Regions from separate parts of the Homo sapiens genome. Here region 1 is linked to region 2. Evidence: promoter capture Hi-C in human tissues and cell types (Jung and others, 2019). All regions are on one chromosome and are shown on one strand. The core of a region is centred on a gene start or on the middle of the fragment in contact, and the rest is flanking DNA. Distances in the headings are between cores, read along the strand shown.

Evidence for each region. The method cuts DNA at HindIII sites, captures the fragments that hold promoters and counts their contacts. A contact is called where the count stands out against the background at its distance.
Region 1: a fragment that was not itself captured here is called in contact with the fragment with the promoter of DLG5 in region 2 in 1 of the 25 tissues and cell types used here (H1 embryonic stem cells).

What each region holds. Positions count from the first base shown.
Region 1 is chr10:77,775,535-77,779,990 of GRCh38, reverse strand. It overlaps the pseudogene RNU6-1266P and the pseudogene IMPDH1P5. Among named protein-coding and RNA genes, the nearest start is that of KCNMA1, 140 kb to the right of the region's middle. The HindIII fragment of the contact is 3,053 bases long and covers 1-2,849 here.
Region 2 is chr10:77,924,793-77,929,331 of GRCh38, reverse strand. It overlaps DLG5 (discs large MAGUK scaffold protein 5), which reads left to right and starts at 2,577. Exons shown (of 32, transcript NM_004747.4): 1 at 2,577-3,115. The coding sequence starts at 2,812. It overlaps DLG5-AS1 (DLG5 antisense RNA 1), which reads right to left and starts at 2,520. Exons shown (of 1, transcript NR_024585.1): 1 at 1-2,520. RefSeq lists a silencer at 708-884. The HindIII fragment of the contact is 24,944 bases long and covers 1-4,539 here.

The DNA of each region.
Region 1 (4,456 bases), core at 74-2,573, 150 kb after region 2:
TTCTTCTCTAGGGCAGCTTCCTGCCCCCAGACCCCCAGGAAATGGTGCTGTCCTGGCCCTGCCTCTGGCCCTTCCAGGGTCCTGTCCCCTCAGCCATGTGGCACTTCTGAGCTCCTGACCTAGGCCAAGGGGAGGTCTCTGCCCCCTTCCCCGGCCCTGGGCTACCCTTGGGTCCTGCTCCTCAGGCTACTCCCCTGTTCCTGGCCCTGGGGAGGAAGCTGCCCTGGTCATGGCTACCTGCCTGTCATTCCTGACTCACCACCGTCCCGAGGTGTACCATTCCTGCCCTCTTCCTCAGCTGCAGTTGAAGGCTTTAACTTTGCACTCTTTGGGATCACAGTTGCGTCAGTGTGTATTAAATAATCAGAATAAATCAAGCAGGTTTCAATGCCTCCAAATATATATCTATATCTATATAGATATATATATAGATATCAGTCTCATGCCACTCTTCATCCCAAAAAGTAACACTATTTTTATGCATTTCTAAATCCCTACTGCTGCTTTCTGCAGATACCAGCTAAATCAAATGTGAATTCATGTTCCCTCCTTCACACCCAGAAGGTAGCATACATAAATGTTCAGTATCTTAATTTTTTTCCACATAACACAGAAAACAGGTGCCGTGACCCTACTGCAGTCACTGCTGTGGTGGCAAATGGACTCGTTAGAGGAGGGGAGTCCGAAAGTGCAGAACTGCCAGGCAAGGAGCCTAGAGGCAGGAGAACGCAAGTCCATGTCAGTAGGGGGAGGGTTCAAAGTGCATCCTGGGGAGCCTGCTTCCCTGGCAAAGGTGCTACCAAAATGCTAACCAGTCCTCGAGAAAGACACAGAAGACTGGGAGAGGGGTGTGTGTATATGGGGTGGGGGTGGGGGAGCCCTGGGGCTATGGGAGCTCTTAGCAGAAGAGTTGCAGCCCCTGTCCTGGGAATCACATGTAGTGATTCCTGAGTGTAGAACAGCCATTGTGTATCCTGGGGTCACAGGGAACAGAGATCTTCTCCCGAAACTGGACAAGGAAGAGTGCCTGTCTGGGCTCACCCCCTTGATGCTTGTGTGATATTTTGAGCTTGAAGTGTTGGATGAGACCTTGAGACCTGAAGGGAAGGGAGGAGCTTGGAGGGAGGAACACCAAGTATGTCAAACGTCCTGGGAAGTGAAGAAAGAAATGTATATTGGCCGCCACCAAGAAGAATATGGAAGGGAGTTTCCCCTGAGGACTAGGAGTTGTCGGTGGTCCTCCAGTACGGTGGGTGGAGATGCTGCCTTCGGGATTCACTATGGGTGATGACTGGATGGGACCAGAAAGATAAAAGGGCTGGACCTCTGTGGTCTTGTGCAGTGTGCACCACCGTGGGAATGGGCTCTAATTGCAAAACACCTGCAATGTGCCAGACATTATACTGGGTGACTTTCCTATGCTTTTATATGTTTGCCCAGGGTTAAGGTCCTTTATTCTTTTTTTTTTTTTTAATGGTCAGTATTTCATTGTGGCATTCTTTTATTCAAATTAAAATTAAACTTATTTTTATGGAGATCAACGTAATTAACTACATGTCTAATATAAAGAGCAATAAACCTTGTTATTTTAAAACCACACAACATTATTTTGATATTTTGAGCCAAACATGCAAAACTTGACTTAAAATTGCATATTTGATGCATTTAAGATAAATTCTAAATGAAAATCTAAATCATGCTTTTATTGTAAATATTAATATAGGCACATGGAAAACATCCAAGCAGTATAAGCAAGGCATGAAGTAAAAAGTCTGAGTCCATCGACAGTGTAAAGGGTCTGACTATTACCACCTTAACTGTGATCACACTTCACTTCAGTAATAATTATAGACCACCCAAATGAAAATGAGCAGCAGCTACTTATTCTCAGTGTGGTATATACACAGAGAGTCAGCCACAGTCACTTGCCATTGCAGACACTCAAAGGCAGTCAGCGGAGTGAGAAAGCTTTATGCTGGGAAAAGGGGAGGCTTCAGGTGAGCCTTGATCAAAGGCTGTTGGCATCTGGAGGCTGTGGGTGAGCTAACTAGAAGCAGGGTATCCTATGTGATTGGTTAGGGAAGCATATTTGGCCTTCTCTGGTTGGTCCTACTAAAGGATTTTCAAAACAGAGGCAAGAATTAGGGAAGCTGGCAGGTACTGATCAAGTCCGGGCCATTTGGGACCAAAGGCTACAGGGGTTGTTTGGCTTCCTGGACTGGTTACTGCAGACTGTGGGTCAGAGTTCTGTTTTTGTATATGATCTGCCCATGGTCTGTATATTCTAGTAGATCCCATAATGAAACCACCAGATATGAGTTACAACATGAAGTAAGTAAGTACACAGTGTCAACTGGAATGTGTTCTTGCCAAAAATCCTCCACCTGGGTCTTATCAAGGCTTTAAATCCAACTGCTGGTTTATAGGAAGTTTAGGGAATGAAGACACAATCAGGCAAATCTAAAATGAAGGATATTCTATAAGACAATGACCTGGTCTCTTCAATGCTATGGATTTAAAAAGGGCTGGGGAAGGAGGGCTGGTGGGAGGACTGTTTTAGATTGAAAGAATGTTGAGACTTGAATAACCAAATAAAATAAACATTGAAACAGGCCCAGTTTTCTCATAAAACTGAAGCTTGGGCCGGGCGCGGTGGCTCAAGCCTGTAATTCTAGCACTTTAGGAGGCCAAGGTGGGTGGATCACCTGAGGTCAGGAGTTCGAGACCAGCCTGGCCCACATGGCAAAACCCCGCCTCTACTGAAAATACAAAAATTAGCCAGGCGTGGTGGCATACACCTGTAATCCCAGCTACTTGGGAGGCTGAGGCAGGAGAATCACTTGAATCTGGGAGGTGGAGGTTGCAGTGAGCCAAGATGGTGCCACTTCACTCCAGCCTGGGTGAAAGAATGAAACTGTTGTCTTGAAAAAACAAAGTGCTCACTTCAGCAGCACATATTCTAAAATTGGAACGATACAGAGAAGATTAGCATGGCCCCTGTAAGGATGACACTCAAATTAGTGAAGGATTCCATATTTTAAAAAAAACAAAAACCTTGAAGCTTGGAAAACTTACATTTGTCTTATCTGAGTTCCTTTCTTGGGAAACCAACCATCGGGCCTCCTGAATGATACCGGGAACTGAGACTTTCCAGATCACTGCCACTGGACAGTGAGGTGCACCTGCTCCTTGTTGACCAACTTCTTATCCCTGCCTCATTCCTGTTTTCCCACATGTGGTTACAATGAGATGCTGGAACCCCTTATACTACCGCCTGCTGCCTATTGACCAACTCCTCGTCCCTGCCCCTCTTCTTTTCCCTTAACTTTAGTTGGTGGGAAGGGACGTATTTGAGGCTGGTCTCCCTTCTCTCTGGCTGACATCACTCAAATAAAATCTTCTTCCCTGGCAATACTTGTTGCCACAGTGATTGGCTTTCTGTGTGGTGAGCAACAGGACCTAGACCAAGCCCCTGGTGATCAGCAACAACATTTGGGAAACAATTGAGATTTTCATATGGACTCAATTATATGGTATTGGGGAATCACTTATTGTGTTAGGGTGTTAATGGCATCTTGTAGGGGAATATGTTGAGGCAAGGTAAACTCAACACTTTAAAGATGCAGCATCTGAAGTAATTTCCTCTGAAATGGCTCATTAAAAAAAATTTATAATGCAGTATGGCGAAATGTAGTCTTAGATCTAAGTGGTGAGTACATGGGTTTTCATGACAGAAAAACAGACTAGTCTGTGTTTGTACTTTTTGTAATCATGTTTAGAGGGGAGTCTATTGTGCTCTATCTTAAATTCCACTTAGTAACTACTGTTGCAGTTTAATGTCTATACGAGCAAAAAATAGTCTTGTATTCCCCTTTCATATTTTTTCCTAAACATAATTATAATCCACCTACTAGATTTTTTCCCTACCCAATGCCATGGAAATTTTCCTGTATCAGACCATGTGGATCTGCTGCATTCTTTTTTATGGCAACACACATAGTATTTATTTGGGAGAATGTACTCACTTATTGAGTATTGATAACTTCATTTTTTATAGTCTTTCCACTGTTAAAAGCATTATATTACTCTAGTCTCAAAGAAACAGTGAAGGAGGCATTGAAGGAAATAGGCTGGTTGTTTGCTGTAAGAGATAGAACGTAGGATGCTGACCAGGATGGTTGAGAAGGTGGTCAGCCCAGCCCAGAGCTGGTAATCGGAGGGGACTAGTGTCTGGAGAAGCAGCCAGGTGTGCTCATCCCTCAAGGGACACAGCATGGCCAAGGGAGGTGGGAGCCAGAGGAGAGGGGAAACTGACCATGACTAAGAGCCTCTCCTTAAACTCAGCCAGTTTCAGTGAAGGTCATGGTTTCTAAGGTTTAGCTGTGAGACATCCTCATTAGGTTTTTTAAAGGGAAGGCGAGGGTTAAAGAAAGGGAGTCGGCGGCTCTACAGCAAT
Region 2 (4,539 bases), core at 1,328-3,827:
GGTAACTAACATCTGTAATTCCAGAACTTTGGGAGACCGAGGCGGGAGGATAACTTGAGCCCAGGAGTTCAAGACCAGCCTGGGCAATGTGGCAAGACCCTGTGTCTACAAAATATTTAAAAAATTAGCCAGGTGTGGTGGCAAGCACCTATGATCCCAGCTACTCCTCGGGAGGCTGAGGCAGGATAGTTGCTTGAGCCCAAGAAATTGAGGCTGCAGTGAACTGTGTTTGCCCCACTGCAATCCAGCCTGGGCGACAGAGTGAGACTCTGTCTCAAAAAATAAGTTTTTTTTTCTTTTTTTTGAGACAGAGTCTTGCTCGGTCACCCAGCCTGGAGTGCAGTGGTGCAATTTCAGCTCACTGCAACCTCCACCTCCTGGGTTCAAGCAATTCTCATGCCTCAGCCTCCTGAACAGCTGGGATTACAGGCTTGCACCATCATGCCTGGCTAAATTTTTGTATTTTTGTTAGAGACGGGGTTTTACCACGTTGGCCAGGCTGGTCTCCAACTCCTGAGCTCAGGCAATCCGCCTACCTCAGCCTCCCAAAGTGCTGGGATTACAGGCGTGAGCCACTTTGCCTGGCCAAAAAATATGCTTCTAACCATAAGCCAGATTCGTCTCCAACTTTTCCTCTTTTCCCCTTCCTCCACTTTCACCTTCCTTCCTCCAACTAGCTTTCTAGTTAATCCAGCTAAGAACACAGGTGCCGGATGAAAGGTGCCTGAAAGGTGACTGCCTTGCAGATGATTTAAGCTCTGGGGTTGCCCTAAGGGAAGTGGCGGCCAGAAAGAACTATATCTCAGGAGCAGGACTGGGAGGGAAGAGCCAGGGAGCCTGTCTGGAACCCTGATACTGTGCAATGGCCAGCCTTCCACTCCTCTAAAACCTTGCTTAGCCATAGAGGGTCAGACTACGGGAGCAGGCAGGTATCTTTAAATAGTTCATTTCTGCCATATTGGGGTCCATCTGGAGGTCTTAAAGAACTTGTAACTCTATGGACCCCATTCCAGAAAAATATATAAATGTTCACAAAAAAGTTGAGATCATGTCAAAAGCTTCATTGACATCCTTGAGCTTATTCATGAAGCCAAGGCTAAGAACCCCTGATCTAATATTCTCCCTCCACCATTTTTCCTAAGGACAAAACAGATCAGCAAGGATTATTGGTTTGTTCCACCTTGTGCAGCTGCTTAGAGGGGAGTCCAAGTCCAAAGTGCAAATTCTGATACTCTTGTTCTTTCTACCATATAGTGAGTTCGTTTCCATAAATAAAAACGACTTCTCCCCTTGAAGAAGCAGACTAAGAAGACACTGCTTTTTGAGGGAAGGGAGGAGGCATGTGGCTGGGACTGGCAGTGTGGGTAGACAAAGTGCCTCTCACCCCCAGCGAGATCCACTCATTCCAACGTAGATATTTGAAATGGACCTGGGTTCCCACTCTACAGAGGAGCACTGCGGGATCACTGAGCGCAGTCAGAGTTCCAGCTTTGAAGGACCTTGTCCTGCAGTCAGGGAGGTAAGCAGTATGTGTCCACAAACGGCTGTCGTGGAAGAGAAGACATTCTTGGGCTTTAAGGGGGACTGCAGATCCTTTCCAAGTCATCAAAGGAAGCAAGGTAGTCCGCTGATTTGTCTCCCTCTGAGACATTTAGGGGGAGAGCGCCTCACTTGCCAGAAAGACCAAGGACTGCACCGCAGACACCCACCTTTCTTTTCCTCATCCGGCGACACATCCTTCCTCCTGCCAACATCCTAACTCCTTTACACTCTGGGGACCAGCTCTTCTCAAATGCTGGCGCGGGGAACAGCCTATTTACCGCAGTTGAGGCGATTTTACTGGGAAATTCTCTTAGGAGCTCCTTGGAGAGGGAAAGCCTCACGGATTCGGCGGAGGTCTTAATCTGGAGATGTCCAAATTTAGGGGAAACCCTCCCCACCATTTGTCTCCAGGCTGTATTTTGGAGTTCTCAGATTAGGACCCTCTGGACTGGGGGCAAGATTTGTATGAGGGGGTCTCCAGCAGCTTGTGGGCTGGCCGCGTGCCAGGCCTGACTCCGTGTCCCCCACCCCCGGCTGCGCCTGGGCCTCGGGGGACCGGGAACCAGCCGGCGCCGCGTCCCCGCCTAGCGGGCGGGCCGGGGACCCCTCCCCTCCGCCCGTCCCCTCCTCCCCTGCTGCCGCCTCCCGGAGGGACGGCCTGGGGAGGGGAGAGAGGAGGGACGGGCCGGCGGCGGCGGGGCTGTGGCCACGGGGGAGCGGGTGGCGGCCGCGGGGCCCCGGTGAGCCGGGCCGGGGTGCACGGGGGCCGAGGCGGCCTCCGAGCCGGGCCGGAGCTGTCGGGAGCCTGGGAAACACGGCCCAGGCGACTTTCTCCCGGGAGTTGTAGTCTTGCTCTGGGGGCGGCGCGCGGCCCGGCTTTCGGGGCGAGTTTTCTCGCGGGGCGGGCGGCGCGCGCGGAGGCTGAGGGGGAGGGGGAGCATGCCCGGCTGGAGCCCGGCCTCGGGGCGCGCCCCGGCCGCCGTCCCCACCTCCGCCTCCTCCTTCTCCTCCTCCGTCTCCTCCTCCTCCTCTTCCAGTCCCGCCGCCGCGGCAGCCAACATGGCTGCGCTCCGGAGCCCGGGAGGCGGCCGCTGCTGAGCGCCGCCCGCCGCCCCGGGCCCCCAGCCCGCCCAGGCCCCGGCCCATGGCTCCCGCCGCCTCACGGCTCCCGGCGCCCTAGGGCTGCTGCCGAGGTGCTCGCCTGCCCGCCCGCCGGCCTCGGGGGGCCCGGGAGGCGTCCGGCGGGGCGGGGCGGCGCGGCCCGCCACCATGGAGCCCCAGCGCCGGGAGCTGCTCGCCCAGTGTCAGCAGAGCCTGGCCCAGGCCATGACGGAGGTGGAAGCCGTGCTCGGGCTGCTCGAGGCCGCGGGAGCGCTCAGTCCCGGCGAGCGGCGGCAGCTGGACGAGGAGGCGGGAGGCGCCAAGGCGGAGCTGCTGCTCAAGCTGCTCTTGGCCAAGGAGCGGGACCACTTCCAGGACCTGCGGGCGGCGCTGGAGAAGACGCAGCCTCACCTGCTGCCCATTCTCTACCTGAACGGCGTCGTCGGGCCGCCGCAGCCCGCCGAAGGCGCGGGTGAGTGGCAGACCCTTGGCCCCCGCCTCTGGGACGCGCCCTCCGCTTCTCCCTCCTGCTGGCCGAGGGTACCTCGCCGGGGCCGCCGCTCCACCTGGCGATGGCCTCGGTGGACTCGCTCCTCTGGCCCAGTTGGGGAGGCGGCGGTGCGCGGATCCCGAAGTCCCGCCGCCTCCCCCAGTCCCGCCGTTCGCTGTGAACAATGCCCCCCGCTGAAGGCCTTCACTCTCAGGTGCCTCGACGACAGGGTCCCCGGGGGCCACCAGGTCCAGTAGCGGGTAGGGGGTACCTCGGAGGATGTCCATCAGTCCCTTTTCTGAGGCTCCTCACCGTCCGCTAGCTTTGGCACCCTGTGCTAGCCTTTAACCAAGGGTACCGTCCAGAAGAATGGGACTTGGGCCAGGACCCCTACTCTTAAGTTTTGGTCGCTGCCATCCTGTGCCGGGGCCACAACTGCTTTTTCATTTTCTGGCTGTCCCAGCTCCTTTTTCTCTGCTCAGAGCCCAGTCTCTCCCAGACTGGTGGCTGATTGTGCACAACGCCTGCCTGGGTTTCTTTGGAAACTGGGCCCGGAAAAGTTGGGGAAGTTGCATTGCACCATGGGAAAATCCTAGTAGTGGCTGCTGGGGCTAAGTTCTCTCCCTGAGAGCACAGAGCTGCTTAACGAGGAAGGCTGGTGACTGGTTCCCTTGAGGGTGCCTTTTGGAACCCCTGTGTCTTTGGTCTTGGGGATGACTGATTTGTAAGTGTGTGTCTGGGTGCAGGAACGGATACTGGCGGGAGTTTCTGACAAGTGGTAGGCTTGTCCTGGCCTGGCCGTGGAGTGTGGAAGCCAGCCTTTTTAGACAAGGCAGCTGGAGGAAGAAGACATGGCACTGAGGGAGGAGGAGAACTAGCATTTATTGGGCATCTACTGTTGTGGCAGGCGCTCTGCTTTATCACGTTCAGTTGTCGTTGCCACTATGTGAGCTTTCTGTTATTCTTTGCCAGAGAGAAAACTCTGGCTTGGAGTGGTTAAAATGCTCAGAAAGTATTGGGCACCAGGAATTTTGAATTATAACCTATTGTTTGATTTAACTTGTTCAGAGCCAGGAAACAAAGTGCCATCTTTCTAGGTCTTGTCCCTGTTTTAACAGTGAATCGATAGGTACAGTAAAAATAAATAAGGATATATGTATAAAAGAAAAACAAGTGAACCGAGAGGGCTGAGAAACTGCCCTTAGCAACCTGAAGGTCAAAGGCTGATGGGACCCATTTATTTGGCTGTTAAAAGCCCCACTTATTAAGGGAATGATTTTATAAGGCATTCCTGGTAACAGCTCTCTTACGTTGGCCATCTTAACCTCAATTTTTGTAGCTGCAGGAAACTGACAGAGAGACTAAATTGCTGGCCACACAGCAGGTCATTTCATTGGTGGCCCTCC